7 separate regions of the Homo sapiens genome follow, and all the other regions are linked to region 2. The links are contacts of gene promoters, found by promoter capture Hi-C in human tissues and cell types (Jung and others, 2019). All regions are on one chromosome and are shown on one strand. The core of a region is centred on a gene start or on the middle of the fragment in contact, and the rest is flanking DNA. Distances in the headings are between cores, read along the strand shown. Region 1 has its middle 140 kb from the start of LINC01522. Region 2 holds the start of SULF2 (sulfatase 2). Region 3 has its middle 140 kb from the start of LINC00494. Region 4 has its middle 120 kb from the start of LINC01522. Region 5 has its middle 120 kb from the start of LINC00494. Region 6 has its middle 100 kb from the start of LINC00494. Region 7 has its middle 150 kb from the start of LINC01522.

Region 1 (2,885 bases), core at 13-2,512, 340 kb after region 2:
CATTCAAACTAGAATTTACTTGGTTGAGATTCTAGAATACACGTTATCCCCAGATGTTCCTGCCCTCCTTAAAATCTTCTAACATGTTCCCCTCACCCGAGCATAAATGCCAGGTCCTATCCACAGCCCACAGTGCCCAGCACGGCCCTGCCCTCTGCCCTGACCTTATGGTCTCCCCTCTGCTGTTACTTTCCTCCCAGACAGGCCTCTGTCACTTCCTGAAACCACACAGGCTCAGGCCTGACTCCGGGCCTTTGCCCCTGCTGTGCCCCCTGCGTGGAGCGCCTTTGCCCGGCTCCCCATCCTCCTCTCCACCCGCTCAGCTCCAGCCTGCTGGCTGCCCCTCAGTCCCCGCCCCTCAGCGGGGAGGACATCCAGAACACACGATGTCCTCCCCGCTAGGCCTTTGCACATGCTGTTCTCTGTGCCTGAAACCCCTCCCCCCTCACCATCTGCGTTCACTTTTCTAATTTCCATTCATCCTTGGAGTCTCCACTGAAATATCGCCCCCCCGCCTGCCCCCACCACTTGGACTTAACCTTGCTTAGGTTGAAAACCCCCATCTCCTGAGTCCAGGAAGCTAGATGCTGTCCTGGCACTTGGAACTTTCCCATCACAGCGTTTTGCGCACTCGTAATTTATTCTATTAGGTTGGTGCAGAAGTCATCGCAGTTTTTGTCATTACTTTCAATGAACTGCAGCGCCGGCTCCTCCCCACTTTTGATTGCCATTACCTTTACTGGCAAAAAAGTGCTGGAATTACTGCTGCACCAACCTAATAGAATAATTTATATTTATTGATCCATCATATGTCTTCCCCTCTAGAAAATAAGCTCCATAAGAATAGTGACCAAATCTACTCCAATCACTCCAGCTTCCTTGCACATTGTCAATAATTATTTACCGACTGACTGATAGAGAAATATCTTCATTGTTGCTGGGATGAGCCACATAACATGACACGCCCCTTTGAAAGTCAATGTCATGGACAGTTAGCATTTGCTTTTCACTCCTGCACCCGTGGCTTGGCTGGGCTTAGGCTGATCTAGTCTGGGCTTGACTCCAGGCTGAGGGTTGGAACCCTGCGTGCTCCACATGCCTCTCATCCTGCAGCTGGAGCCAAAGTTCCCTGGGGCACGCTCGTCTCGTGGGAAAAATCAAGAGCATTAGAGGGCAGGCCTGGCAGTGCCGACACATTCCAGGCTTCTGCCTGTGCCGTGTCTACGAACATCTCATTGGCATAAGCAATTCACCCAGACACGAGCAATACCTCCATCTCAAAAGATAGGAAAAGAAAATACCAGTGTTTTTAGGAAAGAAAATACCAGTGTTTTTAGGAAAAGACTGGGGGGTGGGGTGCAGATCTGGGCATTACGTATTCCAATTTCCTATTGTAGAAAATGGGAGCTAATCAAAGGCTTGGCTTCAATGCTTCCAGTTTAGGATCAAAGCCAAAACAACGAAATAGGGGCAATTCAAAGGAACACCCTCTTTACACCTGTTATTTTTATAAGAAATGAAAACCTTTCTTAGGAGACCTGTCACAATCCTCTTCGGTCTTTTGGGCCAGAATGAGTCATAGGGAAGTCCTCACTGTAAAGGGAGCTGGGAAGTATCTGGCAAAGGTGACTGGCATAGCCAAGGCTGGTTTTGACCAATTGTGATCCATTTCCATTTTGCCTAGAAAAAAATCCTGTTAGCAAGTAGGGTGGGGACAGCTGTTGGGTGAGCAAACATCAGCACCTCCTACTTTATCTTCTTCCACCGCCAGCATCCAATCCAGGGGACAGCCTGTTGTTCCCTCCCTCAGATGCCTCCTCTATTGGTCAGCTTGTTTTCTTCCTATGCCTGGTACCTTCATTGGCATTGCACCTTCTCTAGCCTGGACCATAATTGCCCTTAATACCCTACCTCCTGTCCTTTCTCTTTCAAAAGACTGACAGATACCTGATCTCTCAAGTACAATTCTAACTTGATTACTCCAGCACCCAACTATCTTTGATAACTCTGTCTCATCTGCCAAGTTATATACAAACCTTCTCAGGGTGAAAACCAAGGCCTTCCATAATATGATCATTGGTAAGGGAGAAAAAAAAAAAAAACAGTCCTGTTTGCATCTAGACTATGGAGGGAACTGAGAAACACAACCCTCCAGGCCATGATGCTCCTGAGTCGACATGAACCACACTCAAAGAATATGAACTCGTTCAGACAAGGCCACAAGTTGACTGTGTTTAGAGGTAGGCAGGGATAAGACCACTCTGCAGCCACAGAAATGACTGAACATGCCCCTTTTCTAACATGAGTGACAGCTGCCTCTTTACCAGTGACAACTCTAGCCTGCTTCAAGCTTCCCACTCCTGAGATAAAGTATTTAAGATACGCAATCACCAAGTTGCCCTCACTTCTTGACCTTGCCTCCTTAATCCCTTTTTGGAACCATTCTGTAGAAGCCTAGGTCCTCTAAAAAGCACTGCCCCTTCCCCCTTACTGAGATGCCCCCAGGTGGCCATGGGCGTGGGAATCTCCCTGACTGCAGCAAGCTAAATAAACTGACTGTGACTGCAGGGAAGTTCCTGGCAGTCTTAGGTGGGTGGGCTTTAACATCATGATCTAACTTTACAACTTTACAACTGTTCCCCAATAGCTTCTTTATAGTTCAGACTTTTTTTTTTTTTTCACAATCACACTTAATTCTGAACAAGTTGCTGGATCCAGCTGCTATTTTGCAAGAAATACACAGGACAGAGACAGGAATGTGCTGACTGCACCATAAATTCGGATTCGCCAAAATCCAGACTGTGAAAATCTTTATAGGTCACAGGGTTCAGGCACTGTGACAAAGAAGTTTTAAGAAAAAGACAGGCATGGAAGGGAAATCTGGA
Region 2 (2,913 bases), core at 414-2,913:
GCTTATTAGAACGCTAAATTACACATCCGACAGGCTGTCTGGATGAGTTTTCTCTTCTCTATGATGTGGGAGAGACGAAGCTGGGGAGAACATCTCTTACAGGGAAGGGGCCCCCTTCGTTCTGTCCTCCCTACCCCGTTCCTATACTTAACGATTGGCTCTAATTTAATTAGAACCCTCTGGTGGTTCTGTAATGGGAGGCAGAGGCTGTCAAGAAATCACCTTCACTATTCACTACAAGCTGAAATTTGGAGAGCGCGCAGATCCGGGGGTGTCCTCCAGAGAAAGCCCGTCTCTCCTGCTCCCTGTCTCCCCCTGAGAACCTGCTCCAGCGCAGCCTCCCCTTCTCTGCCCCAAAAGTGGGGGTGGACCCGGTGGGAAACAGGCAGGGGACAGATGGAGGGGCGAGAGGGCGGGTGTCCCAACACGCACAGATGAGCAAATACCCAGATTGAAACGTAAGCTGAATGTAATTACTTGGTTAATTAAATATTGACTTTTAACTCAAAAAGTGATTAAAACAAGCTGCAGGAAGACTTTCCAGAAAGGGGGGCAGGGAATGAATCAAAGCTTTCAAGGGGGAGGAGGAGGAGGAGAGGGTCGTCACAGGCAGGTCTGGCTTGCTCTTCCTACTGTGTGCTGGGCCTACTGCGTGCAGGTGGGGGAGTTGCGGACCGAGGCCAGTGTGCAAACTAGGATTGCAGGCTTCCCTTTCCATCTTCCACCCCGAGACGGCATCTCTCTACCCTGCTGCCCTCCCAGTGAACCGGCAGCTTCTGGCGCGCAGGAGCCAGATCCTGTTCAGCCGCGTTTCCCTGGAACAGAACGCGGTGCCCGGCACGAGGGGGTGCTCCAGAAATGCTTGTAGAACGAATGAACGAACTACTATAAGGAATGTTTGGAAAAGTGCACTCCTAGAATTCACCGCTAGACTTCTGAAACCCCGAGGAGCCGGGGAGGGGAGCATCCCTCCGCCAGGCGATGGAAACTCGTTCTGCCCTGGCCTGGGAGGAAGTCTGCCTTTTCGATCCTGTTTGTCCTTTCGGTGTCTGCGAGTTTCCAACCACTCTGAAGATCCGGCCCACTGCTTCCCCGAGTCCTGCCCGGACAAGCCCCACGTGGGCTGGCATCTACCGGTCCCTTGGGTCTAAACCCTAAGGGTCAACAAGGCCATGCCCCTGCGGATGGCCGGCCCAGGCGCGCTCCCCTACCCGGGGCCGCCTGTGCTCGGTGTGCCGTGTCCGCGGGTCAGGGGCGCGGCGGGAAGTCCTCGCCCGCCCGCCAGCCAGCGGGGTCAAACAGGTCATCCCTCTGCGGACGGCCGGCGCCGGAGCCTCCCTCCCGCCCGCCCGGACCCACCTCCGCAAGCAGCGCTGGGGCTGGAGCCGGGCGGTCCGGACCAGCCCCGGCTCACCTGGGCGGCGCTCGCGGCCGGGCTCACGCCGGGGAAGGCTCCGGCCGCCGCGAGCCCCCGCCCGAGCCCCGCGTCCCCCAGCCACCCACCTGCCCCCCACGCCCCACTCACCAGCGCGCACGGCCCCGGCAACCTCACCCGGAGCGGGGCGCCGCCGCCGCCTCTGCCGCAGCCCGGCCGGGCCGCTGGGCGCAGGGGACTCCGCGCCGCCGCTGCCGCTGCCGCCGCCGCCGCCGCCGCTGCCGCTGCTGCATCCCCCGGCGAGCGCTGCTGCTCCTCCTCCTGCCTCCTCCCCGCCCCCCAACGCCGCCGCCACCGCCCCCGGCCCCCTCCCCGCGCGCCGCCCCAGCCAAAGTCCGGCTCCGCACCCCGCCCGGACCGCTCTTAAATCGCCCCAGCCCGGCCGGCCACGCTGCCCCAGCCAGCCCCTTGGCACGGCGCTACCGCCCCCCGCTCGCCTGCCCGCCGGCCTCCACGCAGGGGAGGCGGGCGCGCTCCGGGGCGGGGAGCGTCGGGCCGGGAGCCGCGGACGGCTGGGGCCCGGGGCGCGGGGGGCCCAGCCGCGGTGCCCTCCTCGAGCCCTCCGCGCGCTAGCGCTTTTACCTCCGGCCTGGGGGACGCGCGGCCCGCGACCCGGCCCTGCCTGTCCCCGGCGCACGGCCCCGGCCCCGGCCCCGAAGTCCAGCTCCGGACGGGGCAGTGAACGCAGAGCTGGGGTCCCGGCGGCTCTCGACCTCCCGATGCCTCCGGACTCGGCTGGCCGCGCTCCCGGCGCCGAGCGCGCACCCTCGCCGGGACACACAGACGCACACTCACTCGACACACTCTCGCTCCTGCTCGCCCTCGGCGGAGAGTTGAAACAGATGTGGGATTCGCCCAGGAGCTGGAAACGAGGGAGGGAAGCGAGCCAGAGCCTTGTGTGCACGTGTGTGTGCGTAACACACAAACCAGGGGGCATCGCTAATAAATCAAATATCGTGATAAATTCAGGAGGGCCATCGATCAGGTCCACTTGGCTGGAAACGACGTGAATCTGCCTCTTTTCCGCTTTCTTCTTCTCCTCTCTCGGAGCTGGAGGGAGCCAAATGTTCCGCGGGGAGTGCGACAGCCCCGGCCGGGCGCTCCCCTCGTAATGACACGTTAATAAATGTTTTCTTTTATCTGCTTTCACAGGACTCGCCCCGGTCTGCAAACACTCGACTGCCTTTGCCGAAAGCCTCGCGCTCGCCTCCAGCCACACACATTTGCCATTGGAGAGGCCGGCGCCGGCCGCGACCCGCAGCTCAATCGCAGGGCAAACCGAGCTGCCTGTGCGCGCCCGAGAACTCCCCGAGAAATTAACTTCGGCTCAAGTGAAAATAGCAGCTGTTGTCCAGAAATGGCCCGGGAGTAGCATAGAAAGGAGAAACCGGCTTCCTCCGAAAGGGGAGGAATTGGACTCAAGGGGGTGCTGTCTACCGTGGTTTCCGCTGTCCCTCGCGCCACAGAAGAGGCCGGAG
Region 3 (2,700 bases), core at 49-2,548, 440 kb after region 2:
AGGGGTTATTGTGTGTCCTGCTCACTCTGGACACTGAGCACACGGAGCTGGGGCTGGTCTACCGTGGGTGCTGGCTACATATTTAGGTTTGAAAGGGTCTAAAAGAGATAAACAGCAGCTGAGGACAGGTACCAGGATTGGGTGCAGGGGAGCTGTTGGAGCTGAGACATGAAGGATGAGACACAGCCACCAGAAGAAGATGTGGGAAACAGCGAGTGCCTAGGTCTCGGGGCAGGAGTGAGCAAGGGGAGCTGGAAGAACAGCAAGGAGGCCCCTGTGGTTGAGGGAGCCAGGGGAGAGTCTGAGAGGCTGCCAGGGGCCAGGTTATGCAAGATATTGGAAGCCATGAAAGGGAGCTTGGATTTTCTTCCAAGGGCAATAGGGAGCCATTGAGAATTTCCGAGCAGGAGGATCACATGATTTGATTTACATTTTTAAACGCTCATTTCAGCTGCCGGGATGAGCATGGATGGAGGGAAGCCTGATTGGACAGCAGAGACCACGGATGAAGCTGCTGTGACTATCCAGGAGGCCAAGATGGATGAGGGGCTCTGTCCAGTGAGGCATCTGGGGGGCTCAGGCACACTTTGGAGATAGGCTCGGCATTCCTGCTTGGCTGGATGGACTCTACGTTAAGGCTTAGGAACAGAGCCCCTGCTGACACTGAGGTATAGCCATGTCTGGTAATTCTCTTGTTCCTGGGACATATTCACTGAGCGACCTCACAGGAAGGAGAGGTGGTTGGACCTGTGCCCTCTCCAAAATGCCACCACGACACAGTCCTAATGGCCCCTAAACTCCAGACTTCCCAGATGCATCCAATGGGGTATTTGCCCCTGGGCCTTCCCGTGGGGTCTCCCTTCTCCTTCTCTGAGGAAGCTTCCACCTGGAGTTTGCAGAGGGCCATAAAGCTCATGTTTATTCTGCTGATTTATATAAATGACTTTCCTTTCACAAGCACGCCCATCAGCACTGAGCATGTCCACATTAATTGGGCTGGAGGAGGAAAATTAAGTGCTTCAATTTGCCATTTTTCAAGATGAAAAATGGGAAAGGAGAAAATCACTCAAGTGAGAGGGAAGGAGCTGTGAGTGTTGAAACCCACTTCGAGGAGAGGCAGAGGCTGCGCTGAGGGGAACAGACTCCTGTAGGGAGCAGCCCTGGACGAAGGAAGGAGGTGATGAGGTCAGAGCCCACAGCAGCCCCAGCAGCCCTTCATGGACCTCAAGTGTTTAAACATAGTAAAGCACATTTGCTCCTGGCTGTCCTGTAGGGTAGCATTTCCTGAACCCTGAGTCAGATGGGGTCCTAAAGTTGCAAGGACAGAAAATCCAACCCCAACAGACTTAAGCAAAAAGGGAATAGATAGCTTTGGGAGGCCGAGGAGGGTGGATCACTTGAGGTTAGGAGTTCAAGACCAGCTTGGTCAATGTGGCAAAACCCTGTCTCTACCAAAAATACAAAAATTAGCTTGGCATGGTGGTGTGCAGCTGTAATCCCAGCTACTCGGGAGGCCAAGGCAGGAGAATCGCTTGAACCTAGGGGTGGGGGCTGCAATGAGCCAAGATCATGTCATTGCACTCCAGCCTGGGTTACAGAGTGAGACTCCATCTCAAAAAAAAAAAAAAAAAAAAAAAAAGGAAAAGGAATAATGGACTCAAAGAACTGAAAAGCTTTGAGGGTTAGTCCAGTGTCAGGTAGAGCTTGATCTAGGGACCCAGACACTTTCTCCCACCCCTCCAGGGCTGCTGTCTCCTCTTCCTTTGCTTGTGGAGAGATTCCACCTACCAGCTCAGCAGCCCCAGGGAAAGACCTTCTCTTCCTGGCGGCCCCTGAGGACTTCGCAGGATTCACCTGATTGGACGCGACTTGCCATGTGTCCATCTCTGATCTAAACACTGGGGTCAAGGTGGCAGGATTTGCTCACAGCCAGGGCCACTCCCTCAGGTGACTTGGTACGAGTAAGAAAGGGATGCCCCTTCCTTTCAGGAGAAGCAGCCTGTGCCAGGACATAAGTCTGTACCTGGTGATTCTGAATATGCCAGTTCACAGACCTGGATCTTGTCCCTTGCATGGAGCTGGGTGTGGGGCCCACCCACCTACAGCACATGAACCAAGAGTGGAGGATGGAGGTTTCCCAAAGGACAATCAAGGTGCTGTGCCCAGGAGGCAGAGCTCATTCATTCATTGCCTGTTTAGAAAATGCTTACTATGTGCAGTGAAGAAAGAGCTTAGAGCCTCGTTTGGGGATTGTCTTCATCTGTTTTCTGCTGTTATTACAGAATACTACAGATTGGGTGATTTAATAGAAAAGAGGCCAGGCACAGTAGCTCATACCTGTAGTTCCAGCATGTTGTGGAGCGGACACAGGTGGATCACTTGAGCTCAGAACTTTGAGACCAACCTGGGCAACATGGAAAAACCCTTTCTCTACAAAAAAAAAAAAAAAAAAAAAAAAATTAGCTGGGTGTGGTGGCATGTGCCTGTAGTCCGAGCTACTCGGAAGGCTGAGATGGGAGGATTGCCTGAGCCTAGGAGGTTGAGGCTGCAGTGAGCCGAGATCATGCCACTGCACTCCAGCCTGGGCAACAGAGCAAGACCCTGTCTCAAGAAGAAAAAAAAGAAAAAAGAAAAGAGATGTATTTGGCTCACAGATCACCACTCTGGAGGCTGGGAAGTCCAAGACTGAGGGGCTGCCTC
Region 4 (2,724 bases), core at 5-2,504, 320 kb after region 2:
CAGAGTCCTTTGGTTAGAAGAAAGAAGAGGATACTGGGCAACTAGCAGTGTCTGCCACACCTTTCTTTAAGGATCAACTCACACTGCACACCACTGCATCCTTCCCTCTTTATCCCTAGGGCATAGGCTGCCTGTCCCCTTCTGAGAAACTAAAGTGAAAAAGGAAGAGAAGAAAAGAATCTAATGAAATGATTTACCTATTTCAGCTCGAAACCCTGCCATGGTGCTGCAGACAGAGTATCTTGGTAGGTCAGGGAAATTGAGGCTCAGAGGGCAGTACTGACTTGCCAAGGTCATGGTTAACTATGAGACTCAGCAGGAATGTGAATCTGGGTTTGTTCCACTTGCCTGCCCTCTCCTCTACACCGTGCTCCCATGGAAGCCCCAGGTAGCCTGAGTAAGTGGTCACTGAATGCTCATGGAAAGTTCTCCTGTTAACTGGGAGGGAGATAACTCATCTCTCCCAGTTATACCGTACAGTCCTCAAGGTCAGAACTGATGCCTGTGCTCCCACTACAAGGTCGAGAAGCCTGTCAAGGGCCCATCACAATTGCCTCCTAGCAGAGGACAGGCCAGGCCATTGTGGACTGTAGTTGACATGAGCACAATTTGCAGATTCTTTTTGACTCTAAAAACCCAAGAACATTGCTTCTGACTGTGGCGAGAACATTAAGCTTTCAAATAGGCACCGCGCTACGACAGAAGCTAATGCAAGCCTTGATCATTTTTCTCTTTCCTTTCCCTCCTCTGAGTTCTGCTGGGAGCCGGTTCGAGGGAAGTTGGCTAATTGGAACTGTCCACACTGCCCCCATGAGAAATGGGATGTTGTACACCATGTTCCCTGGAGAAAATCTCCCATCTGTTCACCGCATGAGAATAATTACATGTATAAATTACCGCCTTCTCATCCCTCTCCGGCTTGTGTTGGAGAGGGGGTGTGCTTATGATGGAGGTTCCTGAGTGACCTTTTTGATGAGGGAATGTGACGAAGTCAGCTCCTAAATCAGCCATCTGCCTGAGCACGACTGTGGTATTGATTTTCTATTCTAGGGCTGGAAAACGGACATTTATTTTGAAATATGTTTAGTAATGAATCTGTGATTTGCGAAGGGTGCTTCTGCAACGATTCCTGCTGAACTTGATGTGACTTCCAGCAACAGAGAAAGTCACTGGGTTTAATTTTACCCTTTATTACTAAAAGGAGAGACTCCAGGCCGAGCAGCTTGAGAAAACGCACCAGGTACTTTCCACAGCAGTCATGACACTGCCTCTCATGGAGAACCTCCCTCTAAATACCTCAACTGCAAAATATATTACACAACATTTTCTGGAACTGAAAAGCCCTGGCCTGGGAGACAGGGTTTGTTGGGGGGCAGGGATCTAATCACCATCAATGACCAGCGATAGCACCGCAGGCAATTCCTTGCCTCTTCCAGGGCCTCAGCGTTCACACTGCAGGATGGAAGAGGCTATTCAGTTTCAATGACCTCCATGGTAAACAGAATAATAACTGCCCCACAAGACGGTCTCATCTGTATCCTTGGAACCTGTGGATATTCCAGGTTACATGGCAAACAGGAGGTAACGTTGTAGATGGAATTCAGGTGGTGTATCAGCTAGCTTTAAAATAGGGAGATGATTGTGGATTATCTGGGTGGGACCGAGGTAATCACGAGAGTCCTTATAAATAGATAAGGGAGGTAGCACCAGAGAGCTGGCACCATGAGAAGAACTTGTCCTGACATGACTGACATATGGAGGGAGGGGGCCATGAGCCAAGGAATGTGGGTGGCTCCTAGAAGCTGAGCTAGGCAGGGAAACACATTCTTCCTTAGAGCCTCTGGAAGGAATGCAGCCCTGCTAACCCTTCCATTTTAGCCCAGTGAGGCCCATCTCAGACTTCTGAACCCCAGAATTATGAGGTAATACCTTGATGTTGTTTAAACCACAAAGTTAGTGGTGATTTGTGACAGCAGCAATAGAAGCTTTATGCAACCCGTGCTCCTCTAGTCCTGGAATTTGCTGATTGCTCTCCACCCATCTGCAGCGAACCCTTCTCACTCCCCTGCTCAATTCTCCCTGATTGAGAATTCCCGTCTTTTGTCTCTCCAGCCAGACTCAAATTTCCAGGAGGACATAGATGCTCCTCTTTGGTATCCGTGCAGTGCATCCTACAAAGTGCTTGTTCAGGCTCCACAGGGCAAGGTCCAGAATTGCTGGAAGTGGCGCGGCCATGTCATCCCTGGAAGTGACGATGAAAGCCAGTCCTTTTAAGGTGCTCACAACCTGCCAGGCGCAGATAGAGGAGCTCCCCAGCCATCATCTCACTGCATCTTTAGAGAAACCTGGAAGTAGAATTATTAGTGTCATCACCACTTGACAAATTAGGCCACTGAGGCACAAAGGAAGTGAATAAGCTGCCTGGGTCACAGAGCTGGGCAATGTGGTGGCCAGGTTTCTACTCTCTTGGGTCATCAGCCCATTGGTTTCATTCTCTGTCACAGACAATGGAAGTTGTCTCTGTCTTACGTAAGGTCCTGGGCAAATGTGGCATCCAGTTAAGGGGACCACAAGTTCCAGTTTACCTGAGACAGTCCCTGTGTTCTAGAATAATTATTAATAGTACCTCCCCATTCATACTCAAAGGGGGTCTAGTTTGGGAACTGTGAATCGTATAGTCAGCCTATGTCCAGCCCTCCTTCCAGTGGTGACAGGAGCCTCACG
Region 5 (2,938 bases), core at 212-2,711, 450 kb after region 2:
CACATTGAGACTTAGTCCCCATTGCAACAATATAAGCAGTGTGGCTTTTGGGAGGAGATTAAGTCATGAGGGCTCCCCGCTCATGAATGGAATAAGCACCCTTATAAAAGGGCTCGCAATTGAAGGGGGCATTCTCGTGTCTTTCATTGAGGACACAGTGTTCCTACTCTCTGGGCCAGCCAGACGGCAACAAGGCACCATCTTGGAAGCAGAGAGATGCCTTGAGCAGACACCAGCGCTGCAGTGCCTTGACCTTGGACTTCTCAGCCTCCAGAACTGTGAGAAATACATTTCTATTGTTTATAAATTACCCAGTCTGTGGTATGCTGTCCTAGCTGCACAGGCGGACTAAGATACTAGCCTACGGTGAATGCTCAGAAATACTTGTTGCAGGCATGAATCCGGGACATAGCAAGGACACTGTTTACAATGAGGAAGAAAGACAAAGGAGAGGAAATGAGAACCCAGCCTCACTCCTTCTTCAAAAATTGTCTCAGTAGTAAAAAGGATGAAAGCTGGCTCTCCACTCAACCTGTCAGACCTCTCTTCAGAAATGCAGGGGAAGCTGCCACCTGGTGAATAATTCACCTGCAGTCAGCAGCCCCAAATGCTGCATTGGCAAAAAGCAAACAGCCTGCAGAACTGTTTCTTATTTTTAATCTGCTCAGAACCAGGGTCTTGAAGCATTTGCTTTTCCATCCTACTAATTTTGGAGGCAATTAGCTGTTGGGTGTTCTTGCCGTCGGCTCCCCTCTGTGTGTATGTCCTTGTTAGGTGTGCTCACCCTGCCCAAACACACCAGCTGTGAAGCGCTTTGTTAATTTACTCTTAAACTACCATTTTAACAAGCTTCTTAAGTGATAGAGGCATTTGTGCATAAATAGCAAGTGGTAAGCTTCCCCCTGGAACATTAACCTGATTTATTAAAAACACTGTGACTACCAAGCTTTATACATCAACATCTTTAACACAAAAAAATATATGATCTCATCTCCTCCCACAGCCCCAGCCCTAATGTAGACAGAGAGCTCTGATGGGAGGTGAGAACCTGGAAGATGTCACTGTGAAAGGCGAAAGAAGCCAGTTTTTTAATATTTCAAATGCAGCCGAGCCAGCCAACCAAAACGTGTTTTCTCCGACATTAGCCTGGGGACAAGTGGAAAAAAACAGACACAATTTCTTTCCATGACCAAACCTTCCCACCTAGCTGGGCCAAGGATGAGGTCACCCTAACACCTCTCTCTGTGACTCTGATGGGCTGGGGGGATGGGCTGAGAGTGGGGGAACACCCCAACGAACTTAAATTTCAATGCCCAAACCGCACCCCACCACCTGCCAGAAACTCAGCATTTCCTAAGCACCCTCCATGCACACACTCCTCATGAATGTTGTTTTGGGTCATCTCACTGCACCACCTGTACAATTATTTCACTAATGTTATTTTTAAATGGATCACTTTAAAAATTTTAGCCTCAAACCAAACAATATTGTCTGTGAAATTGTAGATTTCATGCATTAGTTATATATGGTGTTTCTTTAAAACTTTAAAGATGAAATAGTGAAATAGATAATGCACTCTGGTGTACCATGTACTATTGGTGTGACACATAACACACCAGGGAAATGCTGAATTAATTCCATATTCCAAAGTTCAGAGCAAACAATGTTTCCTGGGACTTAGACGGTGTCTAATACTTTGAAGATTCAAAGTTAAGCTTAGTTTTCCAGTCCAGAGGCTTCTGTGCAAGAGACTACATCCATCAGCCAGCAGCAGACGCACACTGCATCTGACCGAATACCTGCTTCCCTTCTCCTGAGAAGTACAGGAGCACCGTGTGGGGTGGATAATGAAGGAGATGATGTCCTGGTGTGTGTGTGTGTGTGTGTGTGTGTGTGTGTGTGTGTGTGTGGTTTAGTTATAGGTGAATAATTAGATTACGTGATTTCAGGAACTCTTTGGGAAATAGAAGAAGGGTGGCACAGTGAGAAGAATGAAGCTGGGGTCAGTAAATGCAGGGTCTTGACTTCAGTCTGTGTCTAACCATTGCCATCTCTTGCCTGGACTATTGTAGTCTCCTAACTGGTCTTCCAGCTTCACCCTCGGCCACCACCCTGTGTTCTCCATTCAGAGCCAGGGTGGGCCTTTCAGCCCAAGTCAGCTCATCACATTCCATCACTCAGAGTCCTCTAGGGACCCACCCTCTCATGCAAAATAAAAGCCAAAGTCTTCCCCATGGCCTGCAAGGCCCTCCATGGCCTGACCCCTCATCCTCTCTTCAACCTCCACCCCTGCCACTCCCCACCTCACTCCCCTGCTGCAGCCACATGGGCCTCTGTGCTGCTCCCCCAGCCCCTTGAGAACCCTCCTGCCTCAGGGTCTTTGCACTTGCGGGTCCCTCTGCCAAGGCTGCTCTTCCCCAGATATCTGCCTGGCTCATCCTCTCACTCCAGGCTCTGCAGATGTCACCTCCTCCAAGAGGCCCTCTCTGGTGCCACCTTCTAAAGAGCACCCTGTTGCTGCGTAATGACTCAGTTTACCCTATGCTTTTTCTCAATATGCATATATATGTCTAATATCTATGCGTCATTGAGTAAATGAGGGGAAAATGTTCTCAGAGGATGCAGAAGAACCTGAGCATGATACTGGCCTGTGTTAGCGGTGGGTGGGGAATGAAGCGCTTTGTGTTATTTAAATCTTTAAAGAACAACTGTATTACTCATGTAATGAAGAATATTGGGGGACGAGTCAGAGAGGGGAAAGAAAACAGCCTAGAAACAAGTAAATCTGGGTAAGAACCAAGATGAGCAAGGACTTCCTCCCTCCTCCATGCCTCACCCCCGAGGAGCAGCACATTCCATATGGCAGAGCCTGAGATGCTCACGTGGAGGCTCTGGGCAAGGACTCGCCTCTCTCTGCAGCAACCACAAGTGACTCTGA
Region 6 (2,979 bases), core at 303-2,802, 470 kb after region 2:
CCAATGTCCTTCAATGGGTGAATGATTAAACAAACCCTGGAACATCCATAATGTGGAATATGTCAGCAATAAAAAGGAGAAATTATTGCTGCACACAGCAACCAAAATGAACATCAAGGGAATGATGCTTACTAGAAGAATAAGCCAACACCAAAATGTTACATGCTGTATGATTCCCTTTATATAACATTTTTGAAATTTAAAAAATTCTAGAGATGGAGATCAGTTAGAGGTTGCAGGGGGTTAGGGACTGGCTAGTGTGGTCCTAGAGGGAGGCAGAGGGACCCTTGAAGTGACGGGACAGTTCTGTAGCTTGACTATGGTGGTGGTTACTCAAAACCGCATATGTGATAAAATTGCATAACTGGTGAAATCTACATAAGCTCTGTGGATTGCACCTATGTCAATTTCCAGCTTGTCATATTGTACTTTAGTGATGCAAGATGTGATGATTGGGGGAGGCTGGGTGAAGGGTACATAGGACCTCCTTAAACAGTTCCTTGCCACTCTCTGTGGATCTAAGTTATTTCACAGTAAAAAAAAAAATTTAAAAAGCCAAAACAAAACAATATTGCTAATTTCCAACCACAAAATATTCCTTTTAAACTACCCCTGGCCCCATCTTCTCTCTCTGTCTCTGTTTCTCCATCTCTCTCTTTTCAGGCCACTGTGAAGACCTATTTGCACCAACCTGGAACTTTCATTTTTACCTTTTTTTTTGAGACGGAGTCTTGCTTTGTCACCCAAGCTGGAGTGCAGTGGTGCCATCTTGGCTCACTGCAACCTCTACCTCCCAGGTTCAAGTGATTCTCCTGCCTCAGCCTCCTGAGTAGCTGGGATTACAGGCACACACCGCTAAGCCTGGCTAATTTTTGTATTTTAGTAGAGATGGGGTTTTACCATGTTGGCCAGACTGGTCTAGAACTCCTGACCTCAGGTGATCGGACTCCCAAATTGCTGGGATTACAAGAGTGAGCCACTAAGCCTGGCCCAACCTGGATCTTTCTATCTGAGGTTCTGGGAGGGCTGGCAGAAAGTGGAAAAGGGGATAACTTTTTAGTGCCTGATTTGGTGGTATTTCATGTGAACTACCTTAATCATGGAGCCGATTCTCTAATCCTTCTGTTTATCAGTGGCCCCTGCCCCATCCTTTGGGAAACGTTCCAGGATGTTTGGCACTTAACACTGGGTACAAACTCCCCACCCAACAGCAGCCGTTCCTGGTGCCTTCAAACAAAAGGACATGGAATGGGGTAATATTATTTGGATAATTTTCAAAAATGCCCTACAAACGATAAGTGGATCAACAGATAGATTCCAAGCATCATGGGTATCCCTTTGGGTTGGCAATTGCAGCTGCGCATTAACCAGGTCCTTGGGATGATGGTTGAATGTGAGTTGTATCCTGGGCAGATAGACTCACAGATGTGCACACAAATGCACACACACAGGACACACATATGGACGCTTTGTGCTCCTCCAAGCTGGGCATTTTACAGTCAATTCATGGATCAGTCAATACATTTGGAAACTTAGTAGGTTATTAGAGTTTCAGAAAAAGTCTCAAGTTCAAATAAAATGTGTGTATGTGTTTGTGTGTGCATCTACTCACAGTCTTATCCACCCAAATCTCAGGTGCAGCAGTGGTGCCAACATCATGACTTTATGTACATAAACTTGGCCAGGGAAGGAAGGGACCTTAATGTGCAAATGTCCCACGTGCCATCGGTCAAGCCCACCACCTTCACCTTTCAAGTTTCTTATTAGAACTCTAGACTACACGCCTGACAGGCTGTCAGGTTGAGTTTCCTCTTCTGTATGACATGGGACAAGCAAAGTGGGGAGAACATCTTCTACAGGGTGAAATGTCTTCATCCTGTCTTCCTCACCCCCTTTGCCACTTAATGATTAGCTTTAATCTAACTAGAACCTTTTGGGGTTTCTGTAATGGGAGGCAGAGGTGCAGTAAGAAATCCCCTTTACTACCCAGTGAAATACAGGGGCGTCTCCAAGGGAAGCCCGTCTCACCTGCTTCCTGTCTCCCGCCGAGAACCTGCTCCAGCACAGCCTCCCAGTCTCTGCCCCAAAGGTGAGGGTGGGCCCTGTGGGAAAGAGACAGGGGACAGATGGAGGGGCAAGAGGGCAGGGGTCCCAACCTGCACAGAGGAGCAAACCTGCACCAGATTGAAACGTAAGCTGAATGTAATTACTTGGTTAATTAAATACTGACTTTTAACTCAAAAAGTGATTAAAACAAGCTGCAGAAAGACTGTCCAGAAGCGGGGCAGGGAATGAATCAAAGCTTTCAAGAAGAGGGAGGAGGAAGAGAGGGTTGTCACAGGCAGGTCTGGCTTGCTCTTCCTACTGTGTACTGGGCCTACTGCATGCAGGGGGTGTGGTCTTTGGTCTCTGAGCAGGTGAGGAATTTTGGACTGAGGCCAACATGCAAAGTAGGATTTCAGACTTCTTATATCTTTCCACTTCAGACCCCATCTCTTTTCCCAGTTGTCTGAGAGTACCAGGAGCTGCTGGTGCCTAGGAACCGGGTCCTGTTCATCCACGTTTCCTTGGAACAGAATGCAGTACCCGGCACGAGGAGGTGCTCCAGAAATGCTTGCAGAACAAATGAACAAATGACTACACAGTAGTATTATGCACATGTGTGTTCCGATGAGCACGTGTGCGCGTGTGTGTGTGTTCACTGTAGGCAGGAGCTGTGGGTCATGTGTTGTAGGCTGGTCTTAACTCACCAGCTCAGACACCCATGATGTCAGAGGATCTGTAAAACTCCCTGAGCCGTGTTTCCTCCCCATAATTCCCAGCAAACTCCCTGGTCCTCTGTATTCAAGGCCTCAGCCTGTTTTCCAGGTCCTTCTAGGCAGCTGGGGATGGCTGGCCCCATTCCAGAGCTCGGTGTCTGCCTGGGAGACTTAGGACCTTTAGAGCCTCAGATGTCCCCAGCCTGGGAAGTCACTCAGC
Region 7 (2,764 bases), core at 120-2,619, 360 kb after region 2:
GAATACACTTGACAGAAAATAAAACGTGGGAAGATTATCTTTAGTTTTATAACAAAAAGGATAGTAAATGTATGCTAATAATGAAACATAGAATATGTAAATGTATGTAAATAATCCAGCCAGGGCATGCCCCTCTTTGGGCACCTGCCGGTGGGAGGGGGTGGTGGCAGATGGAGCTGCGATTCTGTCATTGTGTCTCCGTTGCCAAGGGCCACTCAAATATGTTCATTTAGCCATATTGAGGATGATCCTGGGGTATGAACATCTTCAGCTGTTTCTACATCTGATGTTGGCCTTGATTAGTAATTTTAGATCCCGAGCCAACATCAGGTGCTACCCTACCGTTTTTCAAAGAGATGGAGGCTGCTGATGCCATGTCTCCAGAGCAGAGCAGGGTGGCAACTGGTTGGCTGGAACCTGCGGGCCCATCATGGGTAAGAGGAAATGAAAATTCTGGAAAGGTGAATAAATTGTAAGCAAGCACCTCACGGCTTACATAACGTAATTGAAATTTCCAGAAGCAGATGGATGATGCCCTAGATCCAAAGGCACAGTAACTAGATGGTTTTATGACAAGGGCAGCTCATCAAATGTCAGGGACGTTCTGATGCAGAATTGCAGATGTCAGGGCTAGCGGGGCAGTTGGACGATGGGGACTCTAACACCTCTTCCAACTCATTGCTTTTCATTAAGTTATTAGATATGAAAAAAAATACTTCTAGTCCAGACTGTCATTTGACCTTTCAGTGGGCCCCTGACTACGTCTCTGACTACGTTTTTAAACTGATGGTCAGCAAATGCATCCCAGGTATGCGTCCTGGGAGGAAACAGTGGGTAATCTGTGCCACACTGCATTTAACTCACCAACAAATTCCACCTCACATTGAGGGGGATGATGAGATGCAGAGATGGGCTTGACACAGGGCAGGAATTCAGCTAGTCTTTGGGCTCCTTAGAGGGAGGCCTTGGGCACTGAATGCCATGATGTCTAAAAGCCCAGAAAGCTTGGAAAACCTATAGAAAGAATGTGAGAATGATTCGAACGGCCTTCCCAGGCATAAAACAGGGGGGAGATACTGCTCATTCAAGTGGCCCCTGCAAGCTTCCTCAGTGTCCTTGAGGAATCATTGGCTAAAGAGCCTTGGCTACCCAGTGGTTAGGAGGATCTATGGTTATGGGCTGGAGCCAGGCTGCCTGGGAGTTAGATGCAGCAACCTCACATGGTGCTGTGCAACACTGAGCAGGTTAATTAATCTCTCTGGTTTTGTTTGTTTGTTTTGTTTGTGTGTGTGTGTGTGTGTGTGTGTATACAAAATGGAATTATCATGAAGATAAATATTAAGTTCAGCTATATGAAATTGCTATTCCCCACAGGAAATTGTCAACCATAGGCAATTTCATATGATTCAACCTAATATTCCATAGGGAATGAAGTTAACAGTTGAAAAGTTCTGACCAAAGTGCCTAGCACTGAATAAGCCCCAGGTAAATGTTAGTATCTTACTTACAAAAGTTTAGGGAAATGTACAGCATCTTCTCTATGTGTTTGTGTGGTGTGCTTCACACTAGTGATCTTCAAACTCTATCACAACCTATCTCTATTAGTCAGGGTTCCCTAAAGGGACAGAACTATTAGGATATATGTATGTATGAAGGGGAGTTTATCGGGAGAATTGATTCACAAGAGCGCAAGGTGAAGTCCCACAATAGGCCATCTGCAAGCTGAGGGACAAGGAAGCCAGTCTGAGTCCCAAAAGCTCAAAAGTAGGGGAGCCAACAGTGCAGCCTTCAGTCTGTGGCCCGAGAGTCCCTGGCAAACCACTGGTATAAGTTCAAGAGTCCAAAAGCTGAAGAACTTGGAGTCTGATGTTCGAGGGCAGGAAGCATCTAGCACAGCAGAAAGGTGGAGGCCAGAACACTCTGCCAGTCTACTCCTTCCATGCTCCTCTGCCTGCTTTTATTCTAGCCGTGCTGGCAGCTGATTAGATGGTGCCCACCCAGATTGAGGGTGGGTCTGCCTCTCCCAGTCCACTGCCTCAAATGTTAATCTCCTTTGGCAACATCCTCACAGACACACCCAGGAACAATATTTTGCATCCTTCAATCCAATCGAGTTAACACTTATTAACCATCACACCATCAGAGGGTTGTGAGCTGTTAATAGGTTAAGAAACAAAATCAGTGGGTCAGAATTTTTCCCAACAGGACGGAATAGGGGAGAAGACAATAGGATATTTTACACATCATAAAATAAATATTGCTTTAAGAGGCTTGTCAATTCCATCACGTGTGTGTGTCTGTCCACATGTGCGTGTGTCTATGCACGAGTGTGTACCGGATCACAGTGAAAGATACATTTCATGCTACGCATTAGAGTTGAATAAAGTTTTAAAGTCAGCTCACTCGACCATATATACTGGACCTTATGAGTACTTAAGGGAATTTTTAAGAGTAATTTTGACTGTGCCACTCACTAATCTGTGGTCTTGAGCAAGTTACTGGGCCTCTCTGTGTCTCAGTTTCTTCATCTAGAAAGCAGTGAAGACCCTTGCACCTGCCTCCCAGGACTGAGGTGAGAAAAGCAGGTAAGAGGCTTGGCGTATTTCCTGGCATGTAATGAAGAGCCCAGAAGGTGCTAGCTGCTGCTGTTTTGCTTGTTCTTTAATTTCCATGGCACGAATGACATTGCAGAAGGTGAGGCTCTACTGCTAAAGGAAGAAATTGATTTATCCCTGATTTGGGGGAAAGCTCACAAGGCAGAACA

What was found. Contacts are between HindIII fragments. The study calls those that stand out against the background at their distance.
Region 1: a fragment that was not itself captured here is called in contact with the fragment with the promoter of SULF2 in region 2 in 2 of the 25 tissues and cell types used here (H1 embryonic stem cells and dorsolateral prefrontal cortex).
Region 3: a fragment that was not itself captured here is called in contact with the fragment with the promoter of SULF2 in region 2 in 8 of the 25 tissues and cell types used here (H1 embryonic stem cells, adrenal gland, dorsolateral prefrontal cortex and 5 more).
Region 4: a fragment that was not itself captured here is called in contact with the fragment with the promoter of SULF2 in region 2 in 8 of the 25 tissues and cell types used here (H1 embryonic stem cells, dorsolateral prefrontal cortex, heart left ventricle and 5 more).
Region 5: a fragment that was not itself captured here is called in contact with the fragment with the promoter of SULF2 in region 2 in 7 of the 25 tissues and cell types used here (bladder, dorsolateral prefrontal cortex, heart right ventricle and 4 more).
Region 6: a fragment that was not itself captured here is called in contact with the fragment with the promoter of SULF2 in region 2 in 8 of the 25 tissues and cell types used here (H1 embryonic stem cells, bladder, dorsolateral prefrontal cortex and 5 more).
Region 7: a contact is called between a fragment that was not itself captured here and the fragment with the promoter of SULF2 in region 2, in 6 of the 25 tissues and cell types used here (H1 embryonic stem cells, heart left ventricle, liver and 3 more).

The regions. Positions count from the first base shown.
Region 1 is chr20:48,127,015-48,129,899 of GRCh38, forward strand. No RefSeq gene overlaps it. Among named protein-coding and RNA genes, the nearest start is that of LINC01522, 140 kb to the left of the region's middle. The HindIII fragment of the contact is 6,415 bases long and covers 1-2,885 here.
Region 2 is chr20:47,783,818-47,786,730 of GRCh38, forward strand. It overlaps SULF2 (sulfatase 2), which reads right to left and starts at 1,664. Exons shown (of 21, transcript NM_001387048.1): 1 at 1,526-1,664. LOC124904920 (a long non-coding RNA gene) reads left to right here and starts at 1,937. Exons shown (of 2, transcript XR_007067618.1): 1 at 1,937-2,345; 2 at 2,588-2,913. RefSeq lists an enhancer at 2,782-2,913. The HindIII fragment of the contact is 5,454 bases long and covers 36-2,913 here.
Region 3 is chr20:48,219,293-48,221,992 of GRCh38, forward strand. No RefSeq gene overlaps it. Among named protein-coding and RNA genes, the nearest start is that of LINC00494, 140 kb to the right of the region's middle. The HindIII fragment of the contact is 4,439 bases long and covers 1-2,700 here.
Region 4 is chr20:48,104,844-48,107,567 of GRCh38, forward strand. No RefSeq gene overlaps it. Among named protein-coding and RNA genes, the nearest start is that of LINC01522, 120 kb to the left of the region's middle. The HindIII fragment of the contact is 5,044 bases long and covers 1-2,724 here.
Region 5 is chr20:48,235,627-48,238,564 of GRCh38, forward strand. No RefSeq gene overlaps it. Among named protein-coding and RNA genes, the nearest start is that of LINC00494, 120 kb to the right of the region's middle. The HindIII fragment of the contact is 4,304 bases long and covers 1-2,938 here.
Region 6 is chr20:48,257,569-48,260,547 of GRCh38, forward strand. No RefSeq gene overlaps it. Among named protein-coding and RNA genes, the nearest start is that of LINC00494, 100 kb to the right of the region's middle. RefSeq lists an enhancer at 2,517-2,979. The HindIII fragment of the contact is 6,360 bases long and covers 1-2,979 here.
Region 7 is chr20:48,143,618-48,146,381 of GRCh38, forward strand. No RefSeq gene overlaps it. Among named protein-coding and RNA genes, the nearest start is that of LINC01522, 150 kb to the left of the region's middle. The HindIII fragment of the contact is 6,424 bases long and covers 1-2,764 here.